Linked DNA regions of Homo sapiens: region 2 is linked to region 1. The links are contacts of gene promoters, found by promoter capture Hi-C in blood cells and fetal thymus (Javierre and others, 2016). All regions are on one chromosome and are shown on one strand. The core of a region is centred on a gene start or on the middle of the fragment in contact, and the rest is flanking DNA. Distances in the headings are between cores, read along the strand shown. Region 1 holds the start of TACR1 (tachykinin receptor 1). Region 2 overlaps TACR1-AS1 (TACR1 antisense RNA 1).

Region 1 (5,247 bases), core at 1,827-4,326:
GTAACCTCCCTGGGCTGTATCTGCATGTTGGAAACATGGTGACATTCCCTGTCGCTGTCATTTCCTAAAGCTCTGGCATCCGAGACCTTTTGGTCTCACTGAGCAGGTATCACAGAGGGTCGGGGCTCTGCGGTGGTTTACCTAGAGAAAAACAACAACGGAGCTGAAATCTGGCTCCCTGCCCAATCCACTGTGCGGACTCTGACTCTCATCCCCACCCCTAACCTTCTAAGTTCCAGAGGAAAGATCAGGGCTGCAGAACATGTTTCTGTGTAAGCCAAAAGAGAGAGCTGTCTGCTGGTGCTCCATCAGCTACTGAATGCTCCAGCTCACACTGACTGACAGGTCTTCCTAGAGCTTGTGCAAAGCCCCAGTGCAGAAAAAGCAAACAAACAAACAAAACCCCCCAAAAAACTTGCCCTCTAATTTAGGGGGCATCAAGAGAGTGTTTGTAAGGCTGAACTGGCATCAGGTTTCACTACCCTGATATTCACTTATATATCATGCTATCGACTTTTTTAAGTTTAAGGAAGCTGTTATGAGATTAAAGGAGCATGTCAATGCAGAAAGATTTACAGGTGTACCTCACTTTCAGCAAACTGAATATCTGAAAACCAGTGTAGTACAAAAGATAAATTTGCAAAATAATTCATTTCACTCCCACTTTGAGTAATTGGTTTACCATCTACATTTAAAATACAAACTGATTTTCCACAATTTGTTTTACATAAAACATAGTAAGCACATAGGAGCTGCATATAGAGAGATGTACAGGGAACTAACAAATCAGTATTTGGACACCACTGCAAAGGATGGAAATGAAGATTTCCCTGATTTTAAAAGTGTTCATTGACTACAGGAGCTAAAAAAGACTTCTAATAATTTGCAAGTTATAAACAATCTTTATGCAAAGAGGGTTAGTAGTTTGGAATTTTTTTTGAAGTTTTCTCCTAGCTCCTTCTTTGGGTTTCTCACATTCAGTTATCTCAGGAAGGACATCAAAAGACTCCATTTTAAAATCACAGTGGTAGGTGTTTTAAGCATACTTTCACATCCCAGGTAAACATTTAACACCTGTGCACACATAGACATACACATTGGAGACCTAAGATACTCACAAAGGAGACAATACCAACAGAGCTGTGCTCCAATAATCAATTTTCCATCATGCTACCTGAAGAGCCATTCATTCCAGAATACCATCCCCAGTGTTTGAAATGCCAACCTTTTCACTTTCAGTCAGCTTTGGGAACCCTAACCTGTTGGTTGCCGGAACAGAAGAGCTCTCAAATGCCTTTGCCAAGCATGTTTCTCTGTGGATAGAGACAGGCTAAATACATACATTTTACATTGCAGGAGAAATTTAGAACACCTCTTGGGTAAGCTTCCTGGATCCCTATCCGTGGAGTTTCTTAAGGATAGCATAACTGTCTCTCATTCCTGAATGAGAATTCCTAGCATTACAGAGTAAACTGCATTAGAATTCTGAGTATCTTATGATACTGATGAAATGCTCTTTCACATCCAAAACAAACAAACAAACAAACACAAACCAACGAACCAACCAACCAAACAACAACAACAACTACAACAACAAACTGGAGAGTTGCAGTGGGAGCAGAAAGTCCCAGAATCCTCTAGGTGTACTTAAAACAGGAAGGCAACAAGAGGCTGTCTGACAGAAAAACAGGCCTGGAGGAATTTACAAAGCCCCTTCCAGGGTCTAGTCCTTTGACCAAACCCTAGGTATTGTTTGCAGCCTGCAAGGGTAAAGGGGAGAAGGAATATATGGAAAGGAGCAAAGCAGAAGTTGAAAGTGTCAGGAAGATGAGTGGAGAAGAGATGAAGAAAGGGGAGTTAAATGAAGAAAAGGGGGATGTGTGTTGAAAGGAAGAGAGAGAGTGATGGGTAAAAAAGAGGAAAAAAAGTTGAAATACATAAGATGAAGTTCCCCATCAACAAATGACTCAGTTGATCAGTAAAAAAACCCTCAGAGTGGCCAATCTTCCACTTGACCCATACCCCACCCAGTTCCAAACCTCACAGCAATGCCGTGGTCCTCTATGAGCACTTTCTCGCCTTTTCACAAAGGCTAATCTCACCTATCAAAGGCCACAGCCGTCATGGAGTAGATACTGGCGAAGACAGCGGCGATGGGAAAGAAGTTGTGGAACTTGCAGTAGAACAGGCCGTAGTACCATTCGTTGTGGACAGCATAGGTGAAGTTCACCACTGTATTGAATGCAGCCATGGAGGCCTCCGCGAAGGCCAGGTTCACCAGAAAATAGTTCGTCACTGTCCTCATTCTTTTGTGGGCTAAGATGATCCACATCACTACCACGTTGCCCACCACAGAGGTCACCACAATGACCGTGTAGGCAGCTGCCCAAAGGACAATTTGCCAGGCTGGTTGCACGAACTGATTGGGTTCCGAGGTGTTAGTGGAGATGTTTGGGGAGAGGTCTGAGTCCACCGGGAGGACGTTATCCATTTCGAAGCTAGGCGGTAAAGCCCTACTATCTGTACACAACCCCCCTCTGCAGCAGAGTCCTGTGGCTGGCGCCTGGGGCTCAGGGTCCTTCTAAAGCCAGACAGGAGGGTGGAAGGCTTTTTCTGGGCAGCACTCTTTTTGAAAGCTGAACTGGCGCTCAGAATATAAACGCTTCTGGATGCACTGCCCGCCTGCCCGCGGTGGCTCTGAATTCCTCCACTTTCAAGCTTCAGGAGACGTTTGAGTTCAGAAGTCTGGAGACAGCATCTCTCTTGCGGTAAACTGAAAAAGGGAAAGAAATTCCACCGGTCACAGTTCTAGGAAGCAAGAGATCCCCCGCATTTATGCACCTGCTGCTGCCTGCAACTCCTATTTCTCCTTCCTCCGCAGGGAAAGGCAAAGCCCTGTGCTGCGTGAGGACTTAGGAGCGAAGTGGGGGCCCATTGCAGCGCGACCTGTAAAAGTTCTGAGCCTATGGCCAGGATTCTGGAGCTTCGTATCCAGCTGGAGATTTTTCCTTCTCTTTTGCTGCCGCTGCCGCCGCCTGCAGTTTCGCGGGCACCTCTCGGTTCGGGTTGCTCAGCTCGCGAGTTAGCTGCGCACGAGGCTTTTATAACCCCCTGCAGAGACGTCACTGGGAAGGGGCAGTACCTGGGCTGCGTACTCGCCAGTCCCGGTGCGCAGCGCGGCAGCTGCGCCAGCTGTTGACAACTGTCTCATTCCACCGCCGCAGCTACCACGCCTTTTGCTGCTTGCTACTTGCCGTGGGAGTCTGCGAGCCGGGAGCCCCACGCACTCCGCGAGGGGGCAGTAGGTGGCTTGGAAGTAACTGACACAGATGCGGTCCGCAGCTGGAATCGTCGTTGCACGAGGGGTGCTGGGAGGAAGGAAGGATTTGGGAAACAGCTGGAGTGGAGGACAATCAACTTCCAGGGAATGAAGCCCAGAGCCCTGAGACAGCTCTGCAGAGGCGGCTTGCCTGTGGCAATGGGAAACGGTCATGTGTGGGGGCGATGTGCCAGCGCCGCGCTCCGGGCCGCGCTCCAGCTACCGAGAAGCCAGAGGCGACGACTCCCTGGTCCAGGTGTCCCGAAAACAACTTTCCTGAGGCTGTGTTTAGGAAACACCCCCACAAAATATCTAGCTCAGTTACCTGGCTAGCTGATTCACCTGGGAAGTGACAGTCTCTAAGCTTTGAGGACACTTTCCTCAGCCACCCTGGTGACTTGGCCCCTCGTTCCAGGAGAAGCTCCATTTGAGCCCTCCACCTGACCCCTCTGGATGAGCCTCTGCTCAATCACTGGGGACAGGGCTGAGCTCCCTGCGAATCTTGGTGAGCGCAGGAGCCACACTCATAGGCAGCTTGTCGCTCAGACGCGCGGCTCTGGGCTCTCCGCCAGCAATCACTGCGGCGCTGCGTTTGCCTCCCGGGGACCTGGCAGCCTCCGCCTCCGCGCCTGCCAAGCCTGCAGGCCAGAGCCGGGCTCGGGGTGGCATCGGTGGTCCTTCTCCCTGTTCCCCTTCCAGGTTTGCATAGGGGCTGGAGGACAGGTCAGCCAGCCTTCTCTGCCCGCCTCCATCCTGCCCTGCCGTCTTCTGACTTTGAGGCCTCGTATCCCAGTCCAAGACCATTTCAAACGGTAGAACTGGTGCCAGACACTTGGAGGAGGCAGGGCAAAGACTCGCCAGTCCGTATAAACCCTTTTGGAGAAGCCAAGATGGGATGAGCTCCGCAGCACGTTCCCGCCAGACTGCTGCAGGCAGAGTTCCGCGGAAAACTGAACCCCGGGAGTCCTCAGGGGCCCATCTACCCCGGTGCACCGCCCCCTCCTTTCACTGCGGGGACTCGGAGCTGTGGGACTGGAGCGCGCACCGGCAGACTTGCGCGCAGGTTGGAGTTGGCGCACACCCGCGCCAGCCGGGGAGCGGCGTTTACGCACTGGTACCGCGAGCGCTCAAAGCATCTCTCGGGAAGTGCTTTAAGGCTGGGAAATTTACTATACACTTATGCCGGGCAAAAATTGGATCCCACGCCGGGGAGGAGAATCTGCTGTTTCACTCTGTATTTTTTCGGAGCCTGGGATTTTAGCGTATATAGGAACCGCACATTGCTTTGCCAGGTTCTCCTAGGCACCCGTAAACACACTGCATAGAAAACTCTAGAGATGCTTTCAAGAGAACAGCGTCCCTTTATTTAGAGCGGCTGCACAAGAGGTCTTCTTTGTGGAAGGGAATGCCTCCTCCACCTTGGATCTCTGCTTGAGGCTTCCACCATCTCAAAGAGCTGACAGAGAGAGGGAGGAAAAGGGAGAGGGAAGGGGATGCGGAGGGTGGGGGAGGGGGGAGGGGAAACTTCTCTATCTTTAATTTTCCTTCCAAGCTGTTTAAAGTTATCTTTTCTTTTTTCTCCCTGTCCATTAGAGCCAGGCTGACGTTTTCAAAAGGAACTTTATTCAGTGGTTAAGGGAGAAAAAGAAAGCTAATCGAATAAAATCTAAATATGTAATAAGAGCTAAATATAAAATAAATATGAAATAGCTAAAAAGTAAACATTAATCCATTTATCCTCCATTAGTACAGCAAGTTGATATTTTGAAGCAGGTACTGTGCTGGGCACTGGGGCTGGGGGGTGAACAAGCACTTACAGTATGGAGGAAGACAAACAAGAAGCAATGAACCATACAAAATGGGCGGTATTATGATGACCAAAGGTACTAAGCCCTGAGTGAGGAGAGAAGAGGGAGGCCACCTAACCT
Region 2 (4,758 bases), core at 1,968-4,467, 41 kb after region 1:
TTCTGTTTCTGGAGCAATATCTCTGTGCAAACTTTAGGCAGCTCCACATGTGCCCTTGCACTTCCTACTTTTGGAGAGACCTGTAGTGCCAACTGTCACATCCATATCTTGTGTCCTAGATAGTAAAGGAGAAGATCAATTGCCAGTGATGGTCAATTATAAGCTAGTTGAAAAAAGTGATGTGAGGCAATAGGGACACAATTAGACTTTCTGGTTTATAAGAGCATAAACTTGAAACAATGCTTTATCTTTCACTCAGCTCTACCAGAAGTGCCTCATTACACACCCTCATTCTCAGGACCAAATCTATTTTGATTAACTTTTAACTAAGAAAAAGAGCTGTCAACATGAATCCTTAAAATTATTTGTGTCTCTAAAAGACAGCTGAACTGTAGTAAATATTTAATACTAAAAGCACAAAATGGACAAATGTTCAAATTAATAAATTTTTCTTCTGACTCCCATTAAAGAAAATAATAAATCCAGAATTTATGAAGCAAGTTTTGTTTAAGCATCCTTCAAAAATACACTGTAGATGCTTTACTTTATTTTTCTAAATTTTGCATTTTAGAAACTTTTAAAACTATAGAAATAGTGAAAGAATAGTGTAATGAACTCCTACATATTTTTAATTTACACTTATTCATTATTAATATTTTGTCACCATTACTTATTTACCTATGTCATCTATCTACAGATATATATATTTCTGGCCAAATTGTTTGAAAGTTGAGTGCAGACATCAGAACAGTTCATATCTAAATACTTCAACCCATATCTCATAAGAACAAAGCCATTCTTACACATGTGCTATCTTTACTAGGTATTTTTCAAGATTGTTGAAAGGATAGAATGATATAATATGTTTAAAAGTACCTTTCAATAAAGTTTACTTTATTAAACTTTAGGAGCTCAACCACTACAAACATTATTCTGAGCTTTATAGACCCCAGTTTACCTTATCAGCAAACTGTTTTTAAGTCTCACATAATTTTCTTACTGCTTGATGATTTTATTTTTAACTCTGAAAAACCTTGACTTTATTCTGAGTATAGTGTGACAGATATAAACATTGTCATATTTCAAGTAACACATCAATTGTCTCAGCATCTCTTACACAATATTCCTCCCTTTCTTTTGACCCTGAATTATAGCAGTCTCTTGCGCGCACACACACACACACACACACACACACACATACACAAACTCCTCACTTGACATGGTTCTGATATGCATGGATTTTAGTTACCATGGTTTGATTAAATGACACCAGTCTCCTAACAACATAATTAAATTTCAGTTATCATGGTATATCGTGAGTGCTTGTATAAGGTACAAGTTTCAGCCCACAAATGACTACATTAAAAAAAAATGTGCATCATCATCCATGATCAGCAACATTCTTTTAAATTCTGTCTATGACTAGTCACTGTGCAACTGTTATTCAGTCTATGTACACACAGAAAAGTGTGAAGTTTTAGTCCCTCCTTGTCTCACAATGATAAATACGTGATGTTTTACAAAAGATGAATAATAAAAAGAAGAAATTCGCCAGCAAAACTGAAAGCGCAACAAAGAAAGTGATAAACTAGAAGTAGAGGTAGAATTGAACATAAATGGAGTTATAAAAGAAATAAATGACCATAAAAATGTTGACACTGCTGTCATTGGAGAAATTCTAGATAAGTAGCCAGAAGGAACTTAGTAAAAGTCTACTTAATGGTGTAAATAAGGAAAGTGGTTCTGACGAAAAGAATGAAGATGTCCTTGAGGAAGCGCTGCCAGGAATAAACTCAGCATTAAAAGAATTCTCAGAGACATTTTACAGCATTGAAAGTGCAAAGGGTAAAATAATGTAAACGGATCCAAACTTAAGAAGGAATATGACAAGTTGCCAAGATATAGAAGTGAAGCTTGCTTCCTATCATAAGATATACCATGAGAAGAAGGTAAGCAATGTTAAAATGACTCTTGGTGAGTTTTTTTGCAGATAAATGTAGCGCTTTAATTATCAATGTTTCTAAAATTTCAGCGTGCTAAATAAACATTAGTTTTGCCATTTTCCGCATTTTTCTATGCATTTGTAACTAACCACAGGATAATTTTTTAAAAATTTATGAAAGATTATAATTTTCCTATTGATTATTAAAATTGTTATGCATGGTATTGGCTTGCATGGTCATTTTCACAGTTTCTTTTCTGTTTAATTCAGACATCTGTATTTTATTTTAGTGTTGCCAAAAGTATACTGTCTTGAGTATCATAGCTTTTAAAATCTGTTTTATCATGTGTCAGAGCATGCTCTCCACCCTTATTATTCTTACTATTAAAAATTCTTTACTATTCTCTCTCTTTAGGTAAATTTCAAACTAATTTTGTCAAATTCCAGCTCCCATGGAGGTTTGATTAAAATTACGTTAAATACAATACTCATTTGGAAAAATTATTGTGTTTATAATACTGCCTCCTCCCTTCAAGAATATAATTGTCGCTGGGCGTGGTGGCTGACGCCTGTAATCCCAGCACTTTGGGAGTCTGAGGCCAGCAGATCACCTAAGGTCAGGAGTTCGAGACCAGCCTGACTAATATGGTAAAACCCCATCTCTACTAAAAATACAAAAATGAGAGAGGCATGGTGGCGGGCGCCTATAGTCCCAGCCACTCAGGGGGCTGAGACGGGAGAATTGCTGGAACTCAGGAGGCAGAGGTAGCAGTGAGCTGAGATAGTGCCACTGTACTCCAGCCTGGGCAACAGAGCGAGACTCCGTCTCAAAAAAAAAAAAAATTGTTGATCCTTCTCTCACAGCCTCCTGAGTGGTACCCTCCTCCTGCCAGTGCCTGAGCTGATGGTGGGAACAGCATGCCTGTGCCCACTGTTCGAAAAAGCCAGAGCCCCATTCCCACCCTGGACACCTAGGCCTGCATGCTCATGCTCTGCATGGCTGTAGCCCTTGTGGTTGGTGGCACCTTGGAGCTCCTGGGCACGAAGCAGCTCATGCTGCAGAGATTGGCAGTTGTCTTCAGAGGGGACAAAATGGCTCACTAGATGCATCCAGGAAGCACTGCTTCCACTGAGAGAGACCAAAGTATTGCACATACTTTGAGCAGACCTTCAGAGAGAAAACACCAACAGCTATTGGAAAGGTGATACAGACACTGAGGGTGAAGAGGGAAAAAGCTAGGAACCCTGTGCAGGATACATGAATGCTAGGGCTAGTTCATGGCCCTGAATGGATCATGTGGAAGGAGTGAGTAGAGAAACAGAGGGACAGCTTACTTTCACCATGGCCCTCTGTGATCTTAGCTATAGGGGACCCCACATGCCCCATGGATGTTTGAATTGGCAGGGGAATCTTCCCTGAGAGTAGGCAGAGACAGGGCTTCAACTGGAGCAGAGCCTAGGGGCTTTTGTGCCTGGGGCAGCTGCAGTGGAGTACAGCCATAGGCGCCCATAGGGCTCTCTATCTTCTTCCAAGTAACTCTAGCCCCAGCTGACCACCAGATCAGGAGAGAACAGGGCTGGTGCTTCCCAATGGGACTGGGTTGCATCTTTTCTGCAGACCCACCTGCCTGCCAGCCCTTCCCAGGACCCCTGCCTGGCCATTCTGCAGGAGTATGCACACAGCACAGCCTCTGCTGCTTAGCCTGGATCCTTTGCTCCATCTAAGTAGTTTCCCAGTGGCCTGGGAGCACATCAGATCCCCCAGCACAGCTGGAACCCAACCCAAGGGTCCAGGGGATGAAGCTGCTGGCTGGTCCCTGTATCCTGGGGTTGTGGTACAGAGCTCGAGAGTGTTGAGCTGAGATCTGTGGCTGGTACTGGAGCTGGGGAGGAGTCCTCATACTCAGAGCACTGAAAGGGGTGATAAGACATATCGGTTCATGGGTTGGTGTGGGAGCAGGGTGTTCCTCCCTCCACAGGGCCAGTTTGGAAAGAATGTGGCCTATCGCCCTGCCATAGCCTCTGCCTGAGGGAGTCTCGTGGCCCAGAACACCTAATAAAGGAAATAAAGACAGAACACCAGTGATCAGAGAGGTCTCCCCCAAGGCCTAGAAATGGACCCGGTGAGGGAGTCAGCTCTCCCTCCTCCACCACAGAGGACAGCTGCAAATATGAGGAAATACAATAAAGCCCTGCAGATAAGCACTTATCTTCTGGCTATAATTCTTTAGTGCCATCTACTGAATCACAGCCTAAACTACAACTGCAAAAATATTCTGTCACTTTGAAACCAAGGACAAGAATCCAGCCGCAAATAAAGATAGTATACAGAGTCTTGGCCCTCTGAAAGCACCCAGAAATGAAGCCAATTGACTATATTCAACTTACACAACAGTTAAAGGAACATAAGTCCTTTCAGATGAGAAAGAATCAACACAAGAATTCTGACAATTCAAAAAGCTAGAATGTCCACTTATCTCCAAACAAACCCACTGGCTCCCAAGCAATGATTCTTAAACAGACTAAAATGACTGAAATGACAGATGTAGAATTCAGAATCTGGATGTCAAGGAATCTCATCAAGCTTAGGGAGAAAGTTGAAACCTAATCCAAGGAATCCAGTAAAATAGTCAAAGAGCTGAAAGATAAAATAGTAATTTTAAGAAAGAACCAAACTGAACTTCTGGAACCAAAAAATGCATTACAAGAATTTCATAATACAATTGGAAGTATTAACAGCATAATACCTAACAAAGGAAATGCAGACACAACACCAGTGTCATGCAGCTGAGAAACAGCATGAGACCAAGCTGAGG

What was found. Contacts are between HindIII fragments. The CHiCAGO score rates a contact against its expected background, and 5 or more counts as called.
Region 2: a contact is called between a fragment that was not itself captured here and the fragment with the promoter of TACR1 in region 1, in 1 of 17 cell types (megakaryocytes). The highest score is 5.9, in megakaryocytes.

Annotation. Positions count from the first base shown.
Region 1 is chr2:75,196,444-75,201,690 of GRCh38, forward strand. TACR1 (tachykinin receptor 1) reads right to left here and starts at 3,077. Exons shown (of 5, transcript NM_001058.4): 1 at 2,103-3,077. The coding sequence starts at 2,491. All of the region lies in intron 2 of TACR1-AS1 (TACR1 antisense RNA 1), which reads left to right. The HindIII fragment of the contact is 965 bases long and covers 2,717-3,681 here.
Region 2 is chr2:75,237,748-75,242,505 of GRCh38, forward strand. The region is part of intron 2 of TACR1-AS1 (TACR1 antisense RNA 1); the gene reads left to right. It overlaps LOC107985900 (a long non-coding RNA gene), which reads right to left. Exons shown (of 2, transcript XR_001739546.2): 2 at 1-115. Among named protein-coding and RNA genes, the nearest start is that of TACR1, 41 kb to the left of the region's middle. The HindIII fragment of the contact is 2,613 bases long and covers 1,912-4,524 here.